Regions from separate parts of the Homo sapiens genome. Here regions 2, 3, 4, 5, 6 and 7 are each linked to region 1. Evidence: promoter capture Hi-C in 16 types of primary human blood cells and fetal thymus (Javierre and others, 2016). All regions are on one chromosome and are shown on one strand. The core of a region is centred on a gene start or on the middle of the fragment in contact, and the rest is flanking DNA. Distances in the headings are between cores, read along the strand shown. Region 1 holds the start of CD93 (CD93 molecule). Region 2 overlaps NXT1-AS1 (NXT1 antisense RNA 1). Region 3 has its middle 160 kb from the start of LINC01747. Region 4 overlaps NXT1-AS1 (NXT1 antisense RNA 1). Region 5 has its middle 170 kb from the start of LINC01747. Region 6 has its middle 47 kb from the start of NXT1. Region 7 has its middle 160 kb from the start of SSTR4.

Evidence for each region. Contacts are between HindIII fragments. The CHiCAGO score rates a contact against its expected background, and 5 or more counts as called.
Region 2: a contact is called between a fragment that was not itself captured here and the fragment with the promoter of CD93 in region 1, in 6 of 17 cell types (neutrophils, endothelial precursors, monocytes and 3 more). The highest score is 9.8, in neutrophils.
Region 3: a fragment that was not itself captured here is called in contact with the fragment with the promoter of CD93 in region 1 in 1 of 17 cell types (neutrophils); the score reaches 6.6 in neutrophils.
Region 4: a contact is called between a fragment that was not itself captured here and the fragment with the promoter of CD93 in region 1, in 4 of 17 cell types (monocytes, neutrophils, endothelial precursors and 1 more). The highest score is 9.3, in monocytes.
Region 5: a fragment that was not itself captured here is called in contact with the fragment with the promoter of CD93 in region 1 in 1 of 17 cell types (neutrophils); the score reaches 8.2 in neutrophils.
Region 6: a fragment that was not itself captured here is called in contact with the fragment with the promoter of CD93 in region 1 in 2 of 17 cell types (neutrophils and monocytes); the score reaches 6.5 in neutrophils.
Region 7: a contact is called between a fragment that was not itself captured here and the fragment with the promoter of CD93 in region 1, in 1 of 17 cell types (neutrophils). The highest score is 5.6, in neutrophils.

The regions. Positions count from the first base shown.
Region 1 is chr20:23,084,389-23,087,918 of GRCh38, forward strand. It overlaps CD93 (CD93 molecule), which reads right to left and starts at 1,936. Exons shown (of 2, transcript NM_012072.4): 1 at 1-1,936. The coding sequence starts at 1,804. RefSeq lists an enhancer at 1,920-2,099. The HindIII fragment of the contact is 6,182 bases long and covers 1-3,530 here.
Region 2 is chr20:23,339,660-23,343,189 of GRCh38, forward strand. All of the region lies in intron 1 of NXT1-AS1 (NXT1 antisense RNA 1), which reads right to left. Among named protein-coding and RNA genes, the nearest start is that of NXT1, 9.4 kb to the right of the region's middle. RefSeq lists a silencer at 965-1,014. The HindIII fragment of the contact is 6,381 bases long and covers 1-3,530 here.
Region 3 is chr20:22,840,156-22,843,685 of GRCh38, forward strand. No RefSeq gene overlaps it. Among named protein-coding and RNA genes, the nearest start is that of LINC01747, 160 kb to the left of the region's middle. The HindIII fragment of the contact is 3,335 bases long and covers 1-3,269 here.
Region 4 is chr20:23,319,028-23,322,557 of GRCh38, forward strand. All of the region lies in intron 1 of NXT1-AS1 (NXT1 antisense RNA 1), which reads right to left. LOC105372571 (a long non-coding RNA gene) reads right to left here. Exons shown (of 3, transcript XR_937379.3): 2 at 3,292-3,338; 3 at 1,926-2,182. Among named protein-coding and RNA genes, the nearest start is that of NXT1, 30 kb to the right of the region's middle. The HindIII fragment of the contact is 8,680 bases long and covers 1-3,530 here.
Region 5 is chr20:22,858,463-22,861,992 of GRCh38, forward strand. No RefSeq gene overlaps it. Among named protein-coding and RNA genes, the nearest start is that of LINC01747, 170 kb to the left of the region's middle. The HindIII fragment of the contact is 1,159 bases long and covers 1,420-2,578 here.
Region 6 is chr20:23,302,149-23,305,678 of GRCh38, forward strand. No RefSeq gene overlaps it. Among named protein-coding and RNA genes, the nearest start is that of NXT1, 47 kb to the right of the region's middle. The HindIII fragment of the contact is 4,186 bases long and covers 1-3,530 here.
Region 7 is chr20:22,876,430-22,879,959 of GRCh38, forward strand. No RefSeq gene overlaps it. Among named protein-coding and RNA genes, the nearest start is that of SSTR4, 160 kb to the right of the region's middle. The HindIII fragment of the contact is 5,211 bases long and covers 1-3,530 here.

The DNA of each region.
Region 1 (3,530 bases), core at 686-3,185:
CCAGAGCCAGGGCCAGCAGGAGTAGGATGGCCACCACGGTGCCTAGGATGTAGAATAAAAGCAGCTTTTGCCCGTCAGTGCCATCGTTGTTTTGTGTGGCCACGGAGGAGTCCCCACCTGCAGGCTCCTGGGGGCCAGAGGCAGCTGTGGCGTGATGGATGCTGGGCTCCCTCCAGACGCCTGGGGACCCACTGGGGGCCAGCATCTTGAGTGGGGCAGATGTGATGGGGGCGTCAGATGACAGCGAAGGTCTACTTGTGGTGGGTGTAGCCTTGGGGGTGCCCTCGGGGCCCCTTGTGGGACTGGCTGTTGCAGCACGGGGCACGGTGCTCCCTTCTTTCTCTCCTTTGTCCTCCTCATCGGGGGGCCCAGATGGTGGTCCCAGAGACACAGGCCCCATGGTGCAAGAGACCCCATTTGGGGCCAGCACCCAGCCTGGCAGGCAGCCACAGTGGAAGGACCCTTGTGTGTTGAAGCACAAGCTGTCGCAGAGGGGGCCCCCCGGGCCCACACACTCATCCACGTCCTGGCACTGAGTCCCGTCCTCCCCGGCCAGGACGTAGCCCTCCTCACAGGAGCAGTGAAATGAGCCATCTGTGTTGGTGCAGCCCTGGGCGCAAGGCGAGCGACCCAGAGCACACTCATCCACATCCTGACAGGCCCCCTCTCCAGGACCGCCCGGCTCATAGCCAACCCAGCATTCGCAGCGGAAGCCCCCAGGGGTGTTGACACACTCCTGGGCACAGGGGGAGTCCTGGCATTCATCCACGTCCACACAGTCCAGCTGACTCGAGTCCAGCTGGTACCCTTGGGGGCAGCGGCACGTGTAGTTTTTCCCATGGGGTCCCAGGACGCACGTGGCCCCCCCACGACATGGGCTGGAGCTGCAAGGGTTTCGAGAGGCACAGGTCACCAGGTCATCCAGCAGCCGGAATCCTGGTCGGCAGCCGCAGAGGAAGGAGCCATCCCCCCCTTCAAAGCAGTCCTGGTGGCAGCCCCCATTGTTGAAGTTGCAGCCATACTTGGGGCTGACACAGAGGGGGCCCGAGCTGCCCCAGTCGAACACATCGGGGGCCTTCTCCTTGCACAGGAAATAATGACTCTGAGTCTCGTCCTTGTCACCTTCCCCACAGGCTACATTGGCCGCAGAGGCAAAGGGCACAGCCTCCAAGGAGGAACTGGTGGTCTGGAAGGGGGTGGTGTAGGTCACCTGACCTGGGCCCCCCAGGGCCAGAGGCCGGCACATGCCTTTGAAGCTGAACTTGCACACGAAGCCCTCAATGTTACTTCCGGGGGAGCCTGGGCTCCCACAGGGGCCCTCAGACCACTTGGGGAGGCGGCTGGGAAGGAGCGGCTGGGACAGGTCCAGCAGCAGAGACACACAGCGCTTGGAGATGCACGAGTTCCGGAGCTCCTTGTGCCAGTTAGAGTAAGGCGTGTCCTCCCCCCCGCCCACCCAGCTGAAGCCCTTCAGCGGCAGACTAGGGTCCAGGCACTTGCCCTTCTCTCGCTGGAGCCCAATCCAGAACTTGCTCATCCTCGCCGTCAGGGCTGCCTCCCGCCTCAGGAGCTGGGCCAGTACTCGCTGGACGTGCTGGGCCTCCTCCTTGCTCTTCACAGTGGCCAGGTTGCCCCCGTTCTGGTTGCAGTGGTTCTGGGCCTCGGCAGCGCTCAGCTTGCCCGAGTGGGCCGTGTAGCAGGCGGTCCCCACGCAGACCACCGCCTCCGTGTCAGCTCCCGTCCCCGCCCCGGGCTGGGTCAGGAGCAGCAGCAGCAGCAGCAGCAGGCCCATGGAGGTGGCCATCCCGGTCTCTGTGTGGCCCTCTGCGGGAGGCGAGAAGCCCAGCGGCGACAGGAGCTTCTATCTCGGCTCCCAGCTGGGCCCCAAGGGGAGCTGAGGGGTGAGCTGCAGCCACTCCGGCGCAGAGAAGGACACAAAGGCTGAGGGCTTTCCACGTCCCCCTGACCCAAGGCGCATCCTGTACTGTTGTACTTCTTATTTCTCACCGGATGTTGGGGCTTCCTGCAATGAATAGTTCTCTGACTCCTGCTGCCTTCATCACGGTGCTGTTGTTCATAAAAGGAGTCAGGCAGCTCTGCCGGGTCCCTGGCTCAGCACTGTGGAAACAGCGACGGGGGGAAGACGTTACAGCCCCGAGATACTGCCGGCTTGATTTTGGCTCCATTCTCTTTCTCATGGCATGAGGAGCCTCGGAGGCATGCCATGGAGTGAGCAGGGGCTTTGGGGGCTAGGAACTCGAGGAAGCTCCCTTAGTAACCCATAATAAAATTCCACTTTGGTTTGCAAACCACCAAAAGAGAAAAAAAAAATTCTGAGACTTAAGACACAAGGCCATGGATGGTTATAATTTTCAGCCTTTTTTAGAAGCAAACTGGACTTTCCTTTTGCCTAGCTCATGTTCTCTGTTGACTTTGGGAGCCTTTTTTCTTTTATCCTCCCATCGTGAACCTTAAATAGACAGGCATTTTTTAAATAGGATACGGGTCGTGGGAATGTCTGGGTTTTCAACATAATGCCAAGCTCCTCGATAATGTTAATCCAAATTGGGTGAAATTTGGCAGTTCTGGGGGTTTCATAGTGGAAATATTGCATTGTGAGGTGTCAGGGTCACAAAAAGCATCAGAAAGAAAATGAAAATGTGTCCGGCCTCGTGGCGCAGGGCTTGCAGGCTCACTTCCCCCGGCTCAGGATTCCTAGCAAGGGCCGGAAATCTGGGCAGGGAGCGGGAATCGAAGCCCGGGCAGGCCCTCCCGCGACACCGCGACTCGGCAAAAGCCAGGGACTCACAGTGTGCTTTTCCTGCAGCCACAGACCTTTGCTCATTGGTTGGGATCCCCCAGGAGGGGACCCTGAGACAGGATTTGGGGAGACTAGTTTATGTGGGAGGGGAAGTGAAACAGACAAGGAGGAAGCCAACCCATGATGACTTGCTGAGAAGGTGACCCTGGGCTGCTGGAGCCAGTGCCAGGAAACTCTGGGGGCCTGAGGGGACCACACCTCAGCACCATCTCAGCTGAGGGAGAGGCTCCACTGCTCTCCAAGTCCCCTGTCATTGGTAGCAGGCTGTATCTCTCACTTTGAGAGACTGACTATAAATTCTAGCCCTGCCCAGTGACCAGGGGTCTCTCTCACATAAAACTTGTTTCTATGGACAGACACCCTTGTGGCTCTCGTCTGACCCATGTCCAGTTTATTCCTATCAAGACAGCCACTTCCTAAGAGATCCCTGATGGGAGGAGAGTTGGGTTGGGGTGTGGGTCAGGGGAGATGCAGGAGGCAGCACAAGAAGACACAGGAAGCAACACAAGCACCGTGTCACTTACAGATCCCAGGGAGAGGGCAGTGCACCCCACGGGGCCAGCAAAAAGTGGGGAGCTGTCTGGGTCACAAACACTCACCTGGAGGGGGGTGAAGGGAGAGAGAGAGACCTGGGTCCTAAGCCTTTATTGGGGTCCAGGACGTTTCCCAAGCAGGTTTCCCAAGGGGACTTCTCACTGGTGGGTTTAGA
Region 2 (3,530 bases), core at 516-3,015, 260 kb after region 1:
AATTGATAAGTCAAGCAATTGAATTACAAGCTCATTATTTAGAATTACAGAGGTAACTGCCAAAAGAACAAAAACATAGGAACAGTTGCAAGTGTTTACCCCACGAGCCTGAATGCGAGGGAAAGCAAGGGGCAGGACAAGAGGTACCTGCTCTCCTTACAAACCTTCTATGCTCTTGGATCTCTGTACCACGAGTTGGAACTTTGGCTTAAATTTTTAAATTAAATTAATGCAGCCTCTGCTTCCACTCGAGGCTGGGGACAGAAGAGAGAACCACTTGGCCTGTTGCTGACAGCTGCCATCCCCCATCCCCATGAAGACAGGGCCCTCAAGGAATGCAGAGGGCAAGGCTGGGGAGGCTTGGGGCATGGCCAGCTCTCCTGTCAGGGTGCCCCTTTCCAACTCAGCAGGGATGAGAATCCTCATCACCCGGAGTGCCCTCCAGGGGCCCACAGCTGGGAGCAGGAAGGGATACTGGGAATATTCCACCTGGGATGACACTCTGATGTCACGGGAGAAGGGGTAGGGTCGTGGGGAGGGGCAGGATCTTCTCGATGCCCCCACCCCTCGCTGGTCATAGGCACTGGCTGGCAAGAACGGGCTGCCTGGGGCCTTGCGCCGGCACCCTGAGCTGATCCCCCACATGCCATCGCGGTCATCCCATTGTACACTGTGCATTCATCGCCTCGGAACCATCCCGGGACAAAGTGCCAAAGTCAGCCATTAGACCAAAATGCTCACCAGGAAGCATTTTTGAGACAGTACCTCAGAATTTGAAATAGAACCACACTAAAAGCTGTGCTGCTTTGGAGAGGCAGAGACCTCTGCTTTCCCAAACCGTTTCTAAAATATCCTAGAGAAAAACAAAAAAGCCTCTCTGAGCAGCCACCTGTCAAGACAAAGGAGATTATCTTGGACTTTTTAAATGCCCTATGTTTGATATAGGGAAGGAACACTTTGGTTTCTTGATCAGAAAAGGTGTCACTCAGATCCTGTCTACAACGCAAGCAGAGCGGCTCTTGTCAAAGGCTAGACCACCCTCGTGTGGCTGCTTCTGTGAATGGCAATTCAGATTTGAAGAGCAAGACAGATCAGACAGCTTCAAAAGCGGGAAAACTGGCTGGGCGCAGTGGCTCATGCCTGTAATCCCAACATTTTGGGAGGCCGAAGCGGGCAGATCACCTGAGGTCAGGAGTTTGAGATCAGCCTGGCCAACACGGCGAAACCCCATCTCCACTAAAAATAGAAAAATTAGCTGGGCAAGGTGGCACATGCCTGTAGTCTCAGCTACTCGGGAGGCTCAGGCACAAGAATTGCTTGAACCCAGGAGGTGGAGGTTGCAGTGAGCTGAGATCACGCCACTGCACTGCAACCTGGCAACAGAGCGAGACTCCGTCTCAAAAAAAAAAAAAAAAAAAGGAAAACTAAGCTCAACAGTCAAGGCTGAACTAATTGCAGAAGAGTGTAAAATAATAATTTACTTCATTAAAAAAGCTGCAGAGCACTTTTCAACCCAGGCTACTTTTATTCTCTAGTCAAGAGCAGTTGTTTTCAAAGTGTGGTCCCGGCTTTCCAGTATGACTAGAAATTGGTTAGAAATGCAAATTCTGGCCTCCCTTGGCCCTGCTATGTCTGAAACTTTGAAGCTAAGGCTCTGGCACCCTAGTGTTAGCAAGGATTCTGACGCTCCCTCACTTTGAGAACTGTAGTTTGCATTAGATTTGTTACTGTCTGGCACCAAAAGAGAGCTGTTAGCCAAGGCATTGACCCTTCAAGGGACCAGGAAAACCCATCTAGACATTCTTCAGGTGTTTCAACAGTGAGAGAAAGTCCTTTCTTTGCTCCCTAGCTTAGACAGAGTCCCCAGCAGCAGCCCCTGAGACAACAATTGCACTGCAAGCCACTTATTTGAGAGGTGATCCCAGGGGCACCTGTTGGGGTATGGGGATGTGAGGTAGGGCAGGGGGAAGCCAGTACAGGGGCAGCACTGCAGGTGCCTGGCTCAGTCCCTGGGGAGCTCCGGGATGATGCGGGGTGTGCCTCAGAGATGTCCTGCCTGAGGGACTGGAAGGGTTGGAACCCTCCAATTCCCATCTGTCCTTACTGAAGGATGCTCTTGGGTGTTAACTCTGGGCATTCCTGCCCTGCCATGAGTAAGGTCCAAGACTGTGGCCAGAAAACCCTGGTCTGGAAAGGAGTGAAGAGGGTATCTCACTGTCTGCTCCACTCAGCTTTCCCAGGCTGCAGGGGGAGACAAAAAGTGCTTGCCGCTCACTTCTGAGCTCTCAAGACTCTTTGATTCCTTATTCAAAGCCCACTCATCAATCAAGGCCTCTCTCAAGTCCCATCTTTGCCAAGCACCTCAGCATCTCCCACTTGGGAGCAGCCTCTCTCCGCACACAGACCAGCCCTCAGATCCATGCATCACTAAAACGTCTCTGCTGATGCTGGGCAAACCAGGGCCTCGCCCTGGGCCCACACGGCCTGGCCGAACACTGGGGAGAGAGCGAGAAATGAATGCCACAAAAGGGGCACAGGAATGTTCAGAGGGGGGAACACCACAGACCTTTCCACAAAGTGGGATGGCTGTAAAGAGAAGGTGGCATCTGAGCCAGTCCCTGAAGGATAGCGGAAATGTGTGCAGAAATGGGGGCAAGGTACACAAGGCAGAGAGGGCAGCCTAAGGACTGCGGCAAGCAGCATGGATTCCGCGTGGCCGAAACATGGCACGGGGGAGAATGGTGGGAACCCAGCTCATGTCTTATTATGGAGGGCCTCGGGTCTGGGACCCTAGTCTAGGATATGGGGAGCTCACAAGTAGGGATACTGCAGAGTGAGAGTTGTGCCCCAGGCAAGTCCCTTTGAGGAGCATGTGTGTTTCAGGACCAGAAAAGTCAGTGACCCGTTAAGAGAGGAAGAGAAGATGGGAGTGGAGTTGGGGTAATTGTGCCACAAGAGCTGCACCCACTACTCAGGCATTCTTCAGGTATCCACATGCCAACATCAGGGAGCAGGTACCCTGATTTTACAGGCTCAGAGGGTTAGATCATTCACAGGAGGTCACGCAGGTCTATCTGACTCCAAGTTCGCATGCTCTTTCTGCTCTATCCACCAGGATTGTTCAAATGGCCCCAGAGAAAGACAGCTGAGCCCAAACTCCAGACCCACAGTAGGAGCTGCAGGGGCATAAGCGACTCAGCAAGGCTGAAGTAAGTGTGAGCCTCAGAGCATGAGAGGAATGGCTGGCCCCAGCCCCCAGTCCTGAATCAGGAGGAAGGGACACAGACACTGGCCCCAGCCCTCAGCTCTCAGAGTCAGGAGGAAGGGACATATGGCAGCTAGGAGACAAAGCATCTAGAAGCAGAGGAACCCAGTGGCCATGAGGTCACGAAAGTCACCTCCAGTCACTTGGACCAGAAGACATGCCTTTGGGCAGCTGGCATGTCAACTGAGCCTCGAGGAAAGAGAATTTTTTTTTTCTGTTTAATAATTTCTTGAGGTGAAGTTTATATAAAATGGGCTATTTTAAT
Region 3 (3,530 bases), core at 352-2,851, 240 kb before region 1:
AGGCTGAGCTCATCAGGCCTGCTGTGGTAAAGATGTAAAAGTTTGCCATTTTGAAGAATAAAAATATGACTTTATGGTTTATATCCTGAAATCATATGCTCTATTACACCATCAGTTTCTTTCTCACTGAGATGAGTGCTCTTTTTCCTTACAATAAGTACATTTTTCTTTTTATTTTTACTAGGATCCAAGACTTCAAAGAAAACCTATAAATTTAATAAAGTTTCTCCTGAAACCTACAACAAAGAAAACAATGACAAAGGAATTGCCCACAATTCTGTGACTCCCAGTGAATACCACAGAAGAGATGGCCACACTGGGCTCTGCTACCAGTTTTTAGAATCGTGAGACAATGCAGTAGTAGAAAGAAAACTAAGAAAATCAAGTTTCTGGGCTGCTATCTGCCTGTTTCAAGCCTCAGATTTTGCAAATATCTATTTTATAGAATCAGCAGAAGCAAGCCAATAATGTCTTTATGCAGTCTACTTGAAAGCAAAAATAACAAAGACGCCAGTCAATACTTTGAAAATGATGTTTATACTAGCCTGGGACTCATTGTTTGCTATGTTTATTAATACAACTAAACAAGAAATCCTCTCCACTTAAAGGCAGCACAGAGAGGATTTCATGTTGAAGAAATGCCCACAGTAGTGACAGTACAACTTGCAGAGGACTAAGTCATCTTTTCTCACATGCTGAGTCCTAACACCTAATTATCAGCTAACACCATTTCTGATGTTTTAGCATAGAAACCTTTATTATCTTAACACTGGATGCTAATAAGACATTGTTAATTTCTAAAACAAACAAACAAACATGGACCTAAAACCTGACTTCCCTAGGAAATAAAAACCCTTTCCTTGAACACCACAGACTCTACAGAGTACAAAGTGCTAGCAAATCATAAGCATTCCCTTATAAATATCAAGATCAATATTGAAGTAGCTCAGGATTGTACTTGACAGGATTTGAGCTTTATTGGTGGAATCTTAAGGTCTCCCACAGTGGTTTTTGGTGTTGATAAAGTTGGCATTTATTTATGACTTGAGTCCTTGCCTGGGGGCTGCAGTCAGAAGCAGCAGGATTTTGTCTAAAGCCAAAGACTTCCTTCATCCTCAGAAAGGAAGCAAGGAGCTGTTTTTCCTCTTCTCATTTGTCCTGCAACTGTGAATTTGTCTCTGGGGCTCCGCTCTGTTGACTTTAGAGAAGCTATGCATACACTTGGTCTCATTCTACTCTAAGACTAAACTGCAAACACAAACCACTCTATAAATTGGGAGATTAATTTCTTTTGAGAAGGCTCAACTAAAGTACCAAGTCTGCTTGTAGGAATAACCTTTAAAAATCAAACAAGCAATTTATAAAAGTCAGAAACCATACCCGGAAGGGTCAGTGTTCTGTTTTGTCTTTAATAGAAAATGCCCCGGATCTGGCAGAAAAAAGCCTTCAAAGGGCTCCCATTATTCCGAGGATGTTTTTATGGCAACATGATCAGCTACATTTCCAAACCTTCATGAAATGATGGCAGGTGGTCTTTCTAAGTAATCTTCAGCACATTCTCTGTTTGCTGAATTACCAGTAGACCCATGCAAGGGATTTTGGACAAAGAGCCATTTCTCATCTTGAATTACTCAGAAATGGAAAATAGTACCTTCTGTTCCATTTTTTTCCATCCGTGCCATCATTCACACGTGAAGTCGAGGGAATGCTCACCTGCATGTTTCATGGTGGAGCTAAGGACCTTGGAGGTTTATTTGCAGCTCCTTAAATAACAAAAACACTGAACCTTTGCAAATAACTCTACAAGCAGCTCACTGCCAAATAGCAGCCACTGCGCTTCTAAGCAGTGAGATGCGTAGATGATGAGAAGGGGCTTCCCTTGCCCAGAATACCCACCCCAACTGCTGTCTCCCATATGGGGGCCCTTCTGCTTCTGGCTCTCATCTTACTTTCCTCCTATCCCTCCTGCCACTCCTCTCCTCCTTCTCTGTTCTCCCCACTCCACCCCTGATGGCTCTGGAAAGGAGAAGTATCAACACAAGAGGGCACAGCTGATGGGCAGGGAGAAGGGACTCCTCCTGACACACAGCCATGGGCCTGGAAGATTAAGTCAGGCCCAGAAATACCACCCAGGAGATTGGAGTGGATTCTACGGGGACTCCCAAATGGGCCCTAACTGAGAATGTCAGAAAACTTGAGTGATCATATCATTTAAAAGGAGTGCCCTTAATAAGTCAACTGGGGTAATGGTTTCATAAACCTGGGCATCCCTCAGCAAAACAGCACAGACAGGGGCTCCTGGGTGGGAAGGGTATGTGGTATTAGAAAGAGCCCAGATAGGGGAGCTAGACAGCCTGGCTCTGTCTCTACCTTAGACTCTGAGACTGTTATTGACAAGAAAGAAATGCTGCATGAGATCACAAGAGAAAATTTTAGAGAAGTGAAACGTAATACAAACACAAGGCACAGCTCTAGAATTTTGCTACAGCCAAAGTCCTGGATAGTAGGGCTGGGAGCAAGGTGGCTGGATGGAGTTGGTTTTACAAGAATCACAAACATCTGTCAAAATGTGACTGAATATGGGGCCCTAAATATGTAAATTAAACACGTAACAAGCCACAGAGCATGGGTGGCAGCCTGCCTATGTGCACTGTCTACACAAATAGGCTTACTCAAATGGGAAAAGCATGAGATGGCAGCGAGCTCATTGGCAAAGTGACATCTTGAAAGTGATTATGCAAGAATACCTGGACATCCGGCCTGTCACATCCTCATCACCACAGCAACAAGAGCTGAACTTTCTCAGGCGCCTAACATGTGCCTCACACGTGCCATCTCATGTAATGGGGCAGGATGGAGTCACAGAGCCAGGGACATGATTGATTCTAACAGGCAGTGTGATCAGGTTCTAGGCTTGCTCCCCCAGTCCAGGTGGGCAGTGGAATCCACAGTGGGACATTCACAGGGACATAGCAAGAGCAGCTGCTCTGGAGGAAGTGAAGAGGCCAGCGTCCCTGGTCCAAGGCAAGTCAGGAATCAAGGAAACAGAAGGAAGAGGGTTTCTCAGGTGTGCAGGGGAGGAGCTGTCCGTGCGTAGGTTCCTGTTCATGTTCAGCTTCTGCAATTGCAAGGCACTCCTGACTTTCCTGGGTGGCACACAGTTTTTTGTGACCTATTAGCAATGAAGTGGAGGAAAGCAAAATTGGAGGTAGACCCTGGGTTACTAGCACTGGCTATGCCTCAAGTTTACTTTTGTGACCTCAGGCAAAAGCTTCGTGGTGCATTTGGAATCAACTACTCTTTCCCTGAATTTATAGATAGGGAGGCTGTGTGTGAGCAGTCATTGGCTTCTCTTCTAATGTCTTGTGAATCGTGTCATCACAGATTGGTGTGGATGGAGACCTAGCAATGAGCACTTGCAAAGGGTGTCATGAAGAACCAAGAGCTCAGCCTTGCTCTGTGATAACTACTAACTTCACTTTTTCACTCTTATTTTTTATTTCAATAGAGACAGGTTATTGCTATGTTGC
Region 4 (3,530 bases), core at 581-3,080, 230 kb after region 1:
CAAACAATATGTCTTTTGGTTATTCATCTATCAGAAAGAAGAGAAGTTGATATCTGGGAATAACTAGGAACAATTCATGTTTGGGTTTTCCCTATAAAATGGAAGAATAGAGCTTCAGTTAAATAAGCCATCATGGAATGGGAAAGGCCATGGTGAATGCTGTGTTGTGGTTTCCCAGACACCCCTCATCCCCTAACAGACCACGATGGTGGCGCCAAAGGCTCCCTGCTAAGCCCGTCTGGGAAATTTCCTTGGCCTAAAGACAGCCACGTGGCCCAACGCCCACCCCTCCACCTGAGTTCCATGTTGTCTACCTTCTGATGTGAATTTCCTTTATTCATTCTTAGAAGAGGTTCCATGGTACAGTAAGATTGCAAAAGTCCAGTGACAAGGCCCAGAGGTGGGGTGTGGAGGGGAGCAGAGGTGGAGAGAGAAAGAAATAATAATGCAATAAACCAGTACGCCACACACTTGGGATACTCAGTAAATGTTTGTTGGGTTATTGATCTATTTATGGAAACACTTGTAAATAACTAAGGACTGATGATCCTGAAAGCAAAATATAGTCTTCCTCCCACTTCTCCTGAACTTGAAGAATCTCACAGAATTCTGTATTTATACCAGCAGCATATGATATGATTTGAATCCTGTTATTTCATGAGATGTTTAAACCAGACTTTCTCAATCTCAGCATGATTAACATTCGGGGCTGGGTAATTCTTTATTGTGTGGTATTGTCCTGTGCATTGAAGTATTTTCTAAGTAATGCCCCTGACATCTACTCACTCAATGCCAGCAGCACCCCCAGTCCCAGTGTGACCAGCTGTCTCCAGACACTGTCAAATGTCCTCTGGGAGCAAAATGTCCCGCCTTGAGAACCACTGATTTAGAGCAATGACCCAGAAGAACTAAATATTTATTCAAGAAAAGAACTCTGAATTATTTTGACTCAGATCTGCAAGAACATTTTTATCTATTTTTTTTTTTTTTTGAAACAGGGTCTCACTCTATCACCCAGACTGGAGTGCAGTGGCATCATCTCTGCTCACCACAACCTCCCCACTCCCAGGCTGAAGCAATTCTCCTGCCTAAGCCTCCTGAGTAGCTGGGATTAGAGTTGCATGCCACTACCACTTGGCTAATTTTTGTATTTTTAGTAGAACGAGTTTCACCATGTTGGCCAGGCTGGTCTTGAACTCCTGACCTCAAATAATCCACCCGCCTCAGCCTCCCAAAGTGCTGGGATTACAGGCCTGAGCCACCATGCCCGGCCTGCAAGACCCTTTTTCAATAAAAATTGGCCAGCTGGAAACAAGATCCCAGACTCCACAGTGATCTGGTCCAAGCATCCTGGTTCTCCACGGTTGTTGTGTCTTCCTCCCCATAAAAGCCAGGAGCCCCTCTCACGCTGCTTATTTGTTCCGGCATTCATCTAGCTGAGCACCTGTTGCACATCAGGCATTGCTCTGAGTAATGCGGATAAAGCTGCACACAAGACGGAGGCTAGCCCAGCCTCAAAGAACTTTCCCTCTAGTGGAGAGGAAGGGGACGGCACACAAGGAAATGAATATACAACTTCAGTGGGAAGTCCACGTGAAATGGAAGAGTTCCCTGAACCTCCTCACATGACACGCAATAGGGGTGTGGCTCATCTGTTTGGCCACCTCACCTGTGCAAACCCCTTACAGGAAGGGGAGCATGCAGACAAGCAGGTGCAGGAGCCAGGGCAAGCACCTTGGGGCTCCAGCCCCATGGTAGCTTCTAGGGGTGGGTGCCTGCAACTCCCAAAGCCCAAGTAGGCATGTGTTACCATGCATTCTTTTAGCTGTGCTGCCTGCAGATAGCTTAAGTGTTAACCAGCTCAGTGCCCTCATGGTACCTAGGTCCTTGTCCGGCATCCAGGAAGAATCAGGTCACACACAGACTTGAGGATGGTGAATGCAGGGTTTTATTGAGTGGTGGAGGTGGCTCTCAGCGGGATGGATGGGGAGCTGGAAAGGGGATGGAGTGGGAAGATGATCTTCCCCTGGAGCTTGGCTGTCCTGCAGTCTATCTCCTCTCTGACCTCCCCCAGCTGAATTTCTCTTGGCGTTCAGATGGTCCCTTTCTTCTCTCTGCCATGCCATTCTGCTGTTCTTCTGTTCTTCTGCTCGTTCCCTCGTCTGCTTCTGAAGCCTAGGGTCTGGGGTTTGTACAAGTACAGGATAGGGGGGCACAGCAGGCCAAAAGGCAACTTTTGGGCTTGAAAACAGGAAGGGCTGTTCCCATTTAGGGCCACGGGTTTCCAGGCTTGAGGGTGGGATCTTTGCTGGGGAACCGCCCACTTCTCAGTATTTCCCTGTCTCCTGTCCTTATCACGTGTAGAGAAAAAAGGCACTCAGCTAGAGAGGGATGGGGAAGGTGTGAGCTGTTTTAGGTAGGAGGGTCAGGGAAGGTCTCTCAGATGAGGTGACATTTGAGCAGAAACTAGGATGAAAAGAGAAAGCCAGCCCTGTCAGCGTCCACTGCAAGAACAGCTAACCTCTAACCCTCAGCCCTGGGAAAGGCGCAAACACAGCTTGCTCTGAGAACAGCAAACAGGGCACTGGAGCTGAATTGGTGTGAACAAGGGTACAAGGGGGAGAAGATGAGGTGGGGAGATGGAAGGTGCATGCCATGCAGGGACTTGGCTTTGATTCGATTTTGGCTTATAGTCAGAGTGAGCGGGAAGCCAAAGGAGGGTTTGAGCTGGGGGGGACTGACAAGTTTCTAAAGAACCACTGTGGTTGCTATGTTGGAAATAAAAAATGAGGGGGTTGGGTAAGGGCAGGGGCAGGAAACTATATCAGAGATGTAGCTAATTAGGATCAGCTGCATGGGGCCAAAATTCCCAAATAACAATGACTTCAGTAACACAGTTGCTTCTCTCTCTAATGTAAACCAAGTATAGAGATAGGCCGATTGAGGCTGGTAATGGAGACCTTAAATTTTCTTCCAGCCTGCTTCCCCGCCATCCAACATTGCTGCCTCACAGTCCCAGAGGGTGGTTCAGTCCCAGCCAGCACGCCTGCATTCCAGCAAGCTGCTGTAAGGAAAGGTCAAAGAAGAACCCATTCTGTCCTTTTAAGTGTATTTCCTAGAAGTCGTATAGGACACTTCTGTTTATTTCCTATTGGCCAGAGCTCCAGGGGAGGCTGGCAAATGCAGGTCTGTATTCTGAGCTACCATGTGCCCTCCCACTTCAAAATAATCGGGAGTTCTGTTCCTAAGGAAAAAGGGGGATGAATGCGGGAGACCATTAGCCATCTTTACCTTGGAGAAGACTGCACCAGTCCAGGTGAGAGATGATGGAGGCTCAACTGGGACGGGGAGAGTGGGGGTGGGGATGAAAAAGAAAAAAACTTATCTGAGGAATATGAGTCTTTTTAAATGTCAAACCCACAACAAGCATGTTAAAAAAATGGTTAACATCACTAATCATCAGGGAAATTCAAATTAAAACTGCAATAAGGTATCACCTTACTCTGCAAGAATAACATTAAAAAGTCAAA
Region 5 (3,530 bases), core at 749-3,248, 230 kb before region 1:
GGCAAGTAGAAATAAGAACTAAGATAAGGGAGAGCGACAGAGTTGGGGGCAGAGACTCCTTTCGGTCAGATGGTCCAGGAAAACCTCTCTGTGTTTGGCATGTTTAGGCTGAGTCCAGGAGATTGAGAAGGGTTAGCAGTACGAAGAGCAGAATGACATTCCAGGCAGAGGGAGCAGTGCGTACAAAGGCCCTGGGGTAGGGAACGGTCGAGTATGCTCAGGGAGTCAGTGAAGGCCAATGTGCAGGGGACTGGTGGCCAGGGTTTAAGTCCCAGGGGCAGAGGTGGAGAAGTCTGAACTCACACCTTCAGCTCTAGATGCTATTGCAGGGTGAAGCATCTCTGAGGCTCTTGCTGTGTTAATTCTTATAGGATACCTATCTGTTTATTTTCAAAGCCACATCCTGAATTTTGAGAAAAATAAAAGAACATTTTAAGGCTCAGAATCCAACCTGCTGAGAGTATGTGTTCAACTCTGGACTTTCTCAGAGCCTGTGGTTCTCTTTGGCCTAGGTCAGGATTGAAACACGGAGAATCATGTTAACAATGGTTCCTAAGTTGCCATATCCACTCTCAGTGGCTATGGGAGCTAGGGGTACTCTCCTCCTGCATGACAGCTCAAACCCCCTTACAACTGCTGCCCTCACTTTTCAACTCCTTGGCCAAAGAGGGTCACAAGGCAAAGACAGTGGTGGACATGGGGTTGGTGGGGAGAGCCTTTCCATGCCCTGCACCCATGCTGGGGCTCCCTGGGGGCTGCTGGGTATTTGGTGCACTGGCTGGTGTCCTCTGTGTACTAATCCACTTTCAGACAGTCTTTCTTATTTTGCATGTCATTGTTGTGCCTGTGGAGGGAGTGGTGGGGAGAAGCATGTGGCCTCAGGAGGGGCTTGCATCAGTCCTGCAAGTCTGAACCTGAGAACCATCCTTGACACTTCTCTCTCTTTCATCCCCCATATACCATCCATTTCTAAATCCAATCACTTTTGCCCCCAAATAACTCTGAATTCTCTCCCCTTCCCATTACATCCACAGTTATTTCCTAGTCAAAGCTGCAATTATTTCTTACTTGGACCTTGGCACATTTCAGGCACACACATTTTCTCTTCATCCCCCAGCTTAAACCAGTTCAGTGACTTTCCATTTTCCCACTGTTAGACCAAAAGCCAGAATCCTTGGCATGGACAATGGCCTGGGTACAGCCAGGATTTGTTGCCAGCCTGGCCTCCCTCGTTCTGCTCCCTACATCTCTGTGTTAGCCACACTGGCCTTCTCACAGACTCTGGAGCATACCGTGCCATCTCCCACCACAGGGCCCTTGCACATGCTGTTTCTTCTGCCTGGAATGCCCACTCCATCACATCCTGCACAAATATATTGGCCCCACTTAATTCTGTACATGTTTAAGAGCTCAGGCCTAAGCTTCACTTCCTTAGGGAGTTCTCTATCCAATGGATTCTACTCCAGTTTAGACCAATTGCCTTCTCCCTCTGTGTAGTAATGATTGGCTTAATATTTGTCTCCACTAGAGTAGAAGCTCCATGGAAACAAGACCCTCACCAATGTTGTTCTCCACTATGTCCAAGAGGCCCAGTACAGTGGCAAACTCATAGCAGAAACACAATAAAATAGGTGTTGAATGAGCAAATAATGAATTAATTGGGAAGTGGGAGTAGGGGATCTTGGGTTCTAGTCTTTCTTTCCCTTCCTCCCTATCTCTCTCTCTCTCTAACTCAATGAGCAGTATAATCAAACTAGGTAACAAGTAGAAGGGGTAAAAATACAGGGCTTGGGTAGTAAGAGCTGCAAGACATGGGACAGAGAAATCCATAAATGTCCAATGTATGCAGGCAACCGAAAAGCCCTCAGCATCTGACATTTCTCTGAGTATGGCAGAAATCTAAAATGTGTCAGTGGCTTGGCCCCTGAGCATTTAGATTTTTGTAGGCTACCACACATTTGGGCAAAACTACTTCCAAACTGCTGGGCCATGTATAGATTACTACTTTCCTGGCCTGCTTTTAACATTTATTTGTAGGAGGCAAGACTGAGCCAATGGTCCTGAGGGCCCCACGGTAGGCCACCGAGGGCTCAAAGAGTCTGGCGGCACCATTGGCTCATGTGCATACCCAGCAAACTCATGTTCTTGCATCCAGCTTTGGAGCTGGTGGGAGACACTGGATAAGGACTCTGTTTTCAAGGAACAACCACTGTGAGCTAGCTTAAGTCGAAAGGGGAAATTTGTATCTCCAGACTTGAGACCATGTCTTATAAAGGATCAAAACCAAGCACACAGCCAGGGCTGCCTCCCTCTGGACATCTTATTTATTCTCTCTGATTTTAGAGAGCTTTGGTGGGTGTAAGATGTGACCCTGCTCCTTCCATTTAAGAGACTTGCCCAGATTGGGCATCTGAGTCCCGTCCTGAACTCTCAGAACAGGACCCCGACAGGCGCAGCTGCATGAGGGTCCACATACAGCCCAATGAACCATGGCCAGGGTGGAGAGGTAACCATGAGCAAACCACAGAGCTCCTCAGATCCACTCCTGGAAGTTAAGGGGGCTGATGAGCTGGTGGCAAGCTTGGTAAACACGCTAAGAGGCTCTGACAGTATGATGCCTATCTTTGGAATGAAGGGTCTGTACTGAATGTTAATAGAATCAGCAGTGGGAAACTCCAAGTAAGGATGACCGCCTTTTTACGACATATCATCTGGTTTATTGTACTGTACACGGTGAGTGCATTATACACGGTATGAGACTGGAAGTCCCTGTGGTAAGAAACTACGTGGTCTGGTGTTCTAACAAATAACAAATATTCTACTGGGGCTCAAAAATAAGTAATAATGACATCATCTCCACGGCTTTTTCATTACTGACACTAGCATGGAAGCTATTCTTCATGGCTTAAGTAATCCCCAGTAATCAAAACAAGGCACCATCTTGCTGAAGAACCCATTTGCTTTGCTGCTGGGGAATGTTGTCATGTGAGGAACTGAAGCGTAATGAGAGTGACTCACAAAAGGGTTTCCACACGGAGAGAACAGGCCACCATCTCCAGCCTTCCTTTTGTTTTCTATGCCCATAAATTTGATTTTATGCACCTTGCAGGGTTCATAGCCACCTGCATTCTCTTTCCATTGAGGATGCCCTCTGCAATCCTGGTCCTTAACCCAGAGAAAGAGCGCAGGAGTATCAGGAGTCCGGATGAAGTCTGAATTATCAGCAACTGAAAGTTGTGGTGTCAGAACACAGCAAGGCCGGTCATGAAGCTGGAGCAAAGAGGGTGATGTCACACTAGTGCGTGCCGACTATGAGCTACACCGACTCACACAGGCCTCTTTTATTCCAACAACAACCCCTCGAGGTCAGTATTAAGTTATATAGCAGCAATGGGTAACCACTGAGTCATTTAATGCACAGATGTAAATTTGGGGACAATTTTTCTTACAGTAATGTGGGGAGCAGATTCAGCAGCACACACACTGGAGGCAGAATGTTTATGTTCTGCAGAGCAAAAAATAAAAAAAAA
Region 6 (3,530 bases), core at 330-2,829, 220 kb after region 1:
CACTTGAGCCCAGGAAGTCAAGACTACAGTGAGCCATGATCGCACCTCTGCACTCCAGCATGAGTGACAGAGAGAGACCCCATTTCCAAAAAATAATGTGCCACCGAGACCAAACTCTCAATAGTATGAGCATGAATCAGGGATTTCCATACAAAACACTACCAAACGTGAGGGCACTTCCTGAGTCTGAAGTCTCGTGTTGCATCCATGAGCACAGGTGCTCTTCATGCTGCGTTCTCGGTGGAGAGTAGGGAGGTGGGCTTACCTCCTCCCCCTCCCTGCCGCCCCCCGCCCCCACTCCCTACCACCATTCCCCCGCCTACTCCAGCTGCTTGTCCTGAACCAGGGCATCACAGATCCAGGCAGTGCTGCCTCACCAGGGCCTGTTTGTCTTGGAGCCAATGGGCTGGGGTGAGGACTTGCTGGGCCAGGGCCTCTGTGATGTGCTAGGGAGGATGTGGCTCTGGGGCTCAGTCTTCCAGTAGACATCAAAGCCCCCATTCTCCCTGCTGACAGGGTTGTAGGGAAAGCACACTGCAGAGAGCTAAACAAATACAGGGGCGGCAGCCAACAGCAGAGAGACAAAATTCCTGCGGCACCTCTGATACTTCCTCCTACCTCTCTTCCCAGTAGTCCTTATAAAGGAAAGTAGTGTGTACAGGGTGGCGATGATGGAGAGGTTGAAGGAAAGTAGTGTGTACAGTGTGGCGATGATGGAGAGGTTGAAGGAAAGTAGTGTGTACAGTGTGGCGATGATGGAGAGGTTGAAGGAGAAGGGACTGACGATAGCTTCTCAGGGTGCTTCCGCAAGTCCGAGCAGGAGTCGCTGCTAAGACCCCAGGGTCCCCGGCAAGGAGCCCTCTCTGCCGGCTTCTGCAACACAAGCCCCAGAAGCTGAGCATCAACATTTCCAAACTTCTTTCTAGGTGCTGACTTGTGGCTGCATTCTCAAAATTATACACTGCATGTGCCAGGCTGCCTGCACATCTGACTTGTTTTCAAATGACAAAGAATTCAGTGACCAATCAGGAACCTGTTGTCCTTCTCCAGGGAGTGGGTAGGGGCCTCACATTCTAGTGCACCTGGCGCAGAAATGACTGGTGATGGGAAAGCTGATCTGGACAAGTTTGACCCAGGAAGGCAGTGATGGGAGCAGCCTCTACGTAACCTAACTTGAGCTCAGACTCTCTCTTTCTCTTTCTCTCTCTCTCTCTCTCTCTCTCTCTCTCTCTGTCTGTCTGTCTCTCTCTCATTCTCTCTCTCCAGAAGAGCAGTGGGAGGCCTTCAGCCCCTTTGGCTCTGCTGAGGCGTTCACACTGAGGCCCCACTCACCCAATATGACTGAGCATGGTGGGGGACTACAGCCAAGCCATCTGCCCAAGGCAGCACCCCACCAGTGAGCAGCCTGTGCACCAGGGTCCCCCCGCGGGGCTGGCTGAGGATTTCTCAGCATTTCCTACCCATCCCTCATCCTTCACCCTCTCCTTGTCCCAGGGTCAGGCTACACAGCATGGTTCCCCAGCAGACCTTCCACAAGTCACATTTCATCTTGGCATCTGCCTCTTGAACCAATGCATCATCCAAATTTACCTTGAGCTTCTCTAATGATAAGAAACTCACCAGGAAGCCTGTTCTGCTTTGATGTGATTTAAAGTTTTCTTTCTTTCTTTCTCACTCTTTCTTTCTTTCCCTCTCTCTTTCTCTCTCCCTTCCTTCCTTCTTTCTCTCTCTCTCTCTTTCTTTTTCTTTCTTTCTTTCTTGCTTGCTTGCTTTCTCTCTCTCTCTCTCTCTTTCTTTCTTTCTTTCTTCTTTTTTTCAGATGGAGTCTTGCTCTGTCACCCAGGCTGGATTGCAGTGGTGCAGTCTCAGCTCACTGCAACCTCTGCCTTCTGGGTTCAAGCAATTCTTGTGACTCAGCCTCCCGAGTGCCTGGGATTACAGGCACGTGCCACCACACCCGGCTAATTTTTGTATTTTTAGTAGAGACGGGGTTTCACTATATTGGCCAGGTTGGTCTCGAACTCCTATCTTCAAGTGATCTGCCTGCTTCAGCCTCCCAAAGTGCTGGGATTACAGGCGTGAGCCACCGTGCCTGGCCTAAAGTTATTTCTTACTGTATCATTGTGATGCTGGCAGAAAACAGATTTCTACTCAGAGGGTTCAGATGGGAACCTTTAATGGAGGGGCACTTTTCCAGGTGTGAAAGAGACAACCAGGATGACGAGCACCCGGGATGGGCAATGCCTGGGAGCTGTCAAAGCCTTACGCTGCAGGGCAGGGCTGCTTGGCGTTACTGCAGCCTAGAGAGGTGGGGCCATGTGGGTGCAGGTGCTGTCCCCCAGGGTCTGAGGCAGGGAAAGAAGGGCCACACTGTCCCCTCTCCCTGCTGGCCTGCTCCCCCTGTTCTTCGCACTGACTGTGCCTCATGGGGAAGGCAGTCTGCAGGAGCACTGGGCAGAGACAGTGCCCTGGTGTACAGGGACAGCCAGAGTGAGAAAAGCATCCCGCCTCCCCAACAGCATCCTGCCTCTGCAAAATCATCTCGCTTCCCCAACAGCATCCCACCTCCCCGACAGCATCCCACCTCCCCAATGGCATCCCGCCTCCCTGACAGCATCCCGCCTCCCCGACGGCATCCACCCTCCCCGACGGCATCCCGCCTCCCCGACGGCATCCCGCCTTCCCAATGGCATCCCGCCTTGCCTGCCTCCCCACCAGCATCCTGCCTCCCCAACAGCATCCCACATTCTCAAGAGCATCCTGCCTCCCCGACAGCATCCCACATTCCCGGCAGCATCCCATCTCCCTTCTTTAAGACCACAGGTGTGATTCTGGGCATCTCCTTTGCTGCTGTTCTCATCTGGAGCCTTACCTGTGATTCCCCTAGAATTTACTTTCAGATTTCAGCCTTGAGATTCCCTCCATCCCTCTCTGGGCTCATGCTACAGGCCTCAAGATGAAGCATCTATCTCCCACCGACACTCTCCTCTCAAGACACTAACCGCAGCCAGAACTAGCTGTTGCTGAGGGTGTGCCACTGACAAGGCCCTGAAGTCATCACTGTCTGCTCTCTACTCATGCTGTCTTGGGTGGAAACACTTGGCCAACTGAAAATATCTACCAAACCACAGAACTCTATGAACTTCTTGTTCACAGTTACTCATTCCAGCAGGCAGGGACTGCCAGAGCCTGCCTCCTTCCACAAACTGTGTGTGGCTGAGATAAGTTTCCAGCCAACCTAGGAGCCTCTTTCATGCCAAGTTTGCAGACCTCTGGGAACGGTGCACACAGCACTGTATGCCCAACTCTGTGCTTTCAAACCAGAACCAGAGCCCAAGGACAGTCACCATCATTGAGTTATAATGTACAAAAGATGAAATATACAAAAATCCAAATTCACCCAAGGAGTCTCAAGGGAGCTGATTGCTTATCCATTGTGTTTTTAATGGGATCTCCATGTGATGCACAAAGCCTGGATTTTTATCCGCAGTAGCAGCTTAACTGATGCACTGGTCCAAACATAATGCTGT
Region 7 (3,530 bases), core at 465-2,964, 210 kb before region 1:
GTCCTCAGCCAGCACTTCAGTGGCCTTTGTAGTGACCCAAACTTTTATTCCTAAAGAGTTTGAGTGATTACTGTTTCTGGCTAATTTGATTGCATAAATCTGTTTGCTTTTATTGCTAAATATAGGGATACTAGGAGATTCCTAGAAAATCCACTGGGTTCCAGACATAGTCCTCCTTACAGAGAAGCAGCAACCTTATTCCTATTGATAACCAGGATCGACATCTGGGCTCTTTGGTTCAGTGGCTACATAAATGGTTCCAATTCAGTGGGGCCATTGTGTTTTCTGGTTGAATCGGCCCTCTCTCTTCAGACCCCTAAAACAGCAGGGCTGAATTTTCTGGACTGAAGCAAGAATTCTATAAGTAGATCATTAGCAGTAACAGAGAGGATCCATTACTGCTGTCATCTCTTGGCTCCTAAATGTGAATTTCAGCTATGGGAGAACCAGTACTATATATTGGTCACTGGTCTAGAGCATCAGGTCCTTCAGTAGGATAACCCACCAGCCCTCAAGGTTTTTGTCACATGGCTGTATCTTTAATGGAGTTTTAAACAGGCAATTTCAGTATTCATTCAGGACAACTTTTTAGGGTGATGGGGTACATGGCAACATAGCAATAATGATGCCCAATCAACCTGTTTTCTTTTCTTTGCCTTTCTTTTCTTTTCTTTTCTTTTCTTTTCTTTCTTTCTTTTTTTTTTTTTTTAAACGGAGTCTTGCTCTGTCATGCAGGGTGCAGGCTGGAGTGCAGTGGCATGATCTCAGCTCACTGCAGCCTCCACCTCCTGAGTTCAAGTGATTCTTTTGTCCCAGCCTCCCGAATAGCTGGGATTATGGGCACACATCACCACACCTGGCTAATTTTTGTATTTTTAGTTGAGACGAGGTTTCGCCACGTTGGCCAGGTTGGTCTCAAGCCCCTGACCTCCAGTGATCCACCTGCCTTGGCCTCCCAAAGTGTTAGGATTACAGGCATGAGCCACTGCGCCCAGCCTCGACCTGTATTCTTGTAAAAGAGATTCCCTGATCAGAAGCAACATGAAGTGGTGTCCAATGGCAGTAAAGAAGGCATTGTATAAATTCACAGATGCTGGATGCTTGAAAAATCTTAATAATCAAAGAAGAAAAATCCATGTCCAGAATAAGTGTCTATTTCTAGTAAGGAAAACATCACCAACCTGCCACATTGGAAAGGACTGTGTATCAGTTAGGGTCCTAGCAGAAAACAGATGACATCCCCAAGGGTTAAGGAAAATTTAATAATGGGCCATTTACAATGGCATGATTCAGGGTGCGGAAAACTCATAAAGATAGGTTCAGCTGGGGAGATGTTACCCACTTGGGCCTGAGGTTGGGGAGCAGCAAGGAGCAGATACAGAGCTGGAGCACCTGCTTATACAAGAGGCACCCACCATGGGAGTGCTGGCTTTAGATAGAGGCAACCTTTAAGGGGGGACCTGGGGAGTGAAATCCTCTGCTCCACTCTGCTCTTGTCCTCAGCCCTCCTTCTTGTGTTCACCATTAATCTAAACCACCTAGAAGTCCGAGGATAAAGGAGCCTGCTGAGTAGTCCCCATGTAGTCTCCATAGGTCAGCCTTTGGCGTCACGAGCATGTTAGAAAAGGCACAAGTCAAGTAGTGAGTGGTAAGTGGAGCTGGAGGTCTACATAGAAATCATCTACTCCACCCTTTTCGCTGGGCAGCCTCCATCCCATCCTTTTTCCAGATGAAAGTTCCTAACACAAAAGACACACAAATTTCCATCGGCTGCCTATTAAGCAGGGGATGTCAATAAGATTATCCTCCCTTCTCAAAACTTAACAATTAGCTTTCACCAATACTTTCATATAATATTTCAAGGGGAATGCATAAAAGAAGTAATAATCGGCATAAATCACAGCTGCTCTAGTAACCCCTTTTGTAGCTGGGCATGAGGCCAGGGTTGGTGGCAAAGGAAGCTGTGTTCAGATGCCCCTAGCTGCAAGACAAGTCTGCCTACAAGAAGGAAGACTTCGATATGTAGATTTGGAGTGTGGTTTCCTTCACCCATATTAGGAGTGTGCACGTGGAAGATGCAGTTATTAGGAATACAGGATCAGAAGGCCCAAGGTAAAACACTTGCCCTTCCCCAAGGAATGACTGCTTCATCCAAATACTAAAAAGTCTCATGAAACAAAATCATCTCCAAAGGGAGCCTGGAATGAAGCTACTGGGCATTGGCCAACTTGCTAGGACTGCTGGAAGAATGGTGCATGGGGACAGAGGTGGACATTTCACTCAGGTAGGGGGAGCTATCACCTGTGGTCAGAACCCAGAGACAAGGGGCAATTTCATCAAGACCAAATTAAAACATTGAGTTATGTTTGGTTTGCAGCTGGATGGAATTTTATATGAAGTAACCCAGTCCATTGACCCTAAAATCAGACCTGGGAATGAAAAGTAGAGGGACTGGAATGTTATGTTCAAAAGTCCCCCTTCCTTCATCCCTCATTATCCCCATTCTCTAATACACTCCTTTGACAAGTAATGGCTTTGCTCCAGGAGGGAGGGAGCCTGATCCTAACTGATCCATCACATTCAGAAGAGGAGTCCTACCCAGAGTTAGGCCTCTTTCCAATTAGCCTGGAGACTGGACCTCATCACTAGAATGTGTCACTGGGATAGGACAATGGCAAACACACGTCTTGAGAACAGAACTCGTATAGTTAGGATTAAAACTGAGGGTGGTGGAATATCTGATCAGTCCACAGACTTGGGTATCAGTGTCCTTCAAAAATCATTTGGGGGCAATTAGGACATCCTTTTCTCTTGTGATTACCAGATACATGTGACTACCAGAAGGCTGGAGAATACACGTTTAGCTGATGTAGACATACTAAAGCCTGAGGACTTTTGCAGAGAAAGCCCTGTCCAGATGATGATCTGATTCAGAAAATGCATACCCACTCCACTTAGACTGAGTAAAATATAGAGCTAGTTCAAGTCTAAAACTCTGTCCTTCACCTAAGGAGATAAAATCTGACCGGGTTCTGTCCATCTTCTATTTTTAAACTGGCCAAAGAGGTAGGGACAGAAAGTAACCAAGTATCCACAGAAAGAGTTAGGAAGAGCTAATCTTAGACAGAGACAGGCTGGTGACACTAGCCACATCTGAGTAGCTAGCACCAGTGTGGAGATAGCAGGTCAGATGGGAGCTGCAATGGAAGCGTCCAGCTTCAGGTAGCAGTGCAGGAGAACTCCTTCCCAAGCCTGTATTCATTGTCTAAAGCTGCTATAACCAGTTACCACAAATTCATGGCTTAAAACAACACAAATTACATTTTATCATTCATAAATTCAAAATGGGTCTTGCTGAGCTAAAATCAAGATATTGGCAGAAGTGCATTTCTTTCTCGAGACTCCCAGGGAGAATCCTTCTCATTAGTATTTCCAGTCTCACAAGGCCATCCTCTTTCTTGGCTGGTGACCCTTTTTCTTTATCTTCAAAGCCAGCGACAATAGGTTGTGTTCTTACATTGTATCACTCC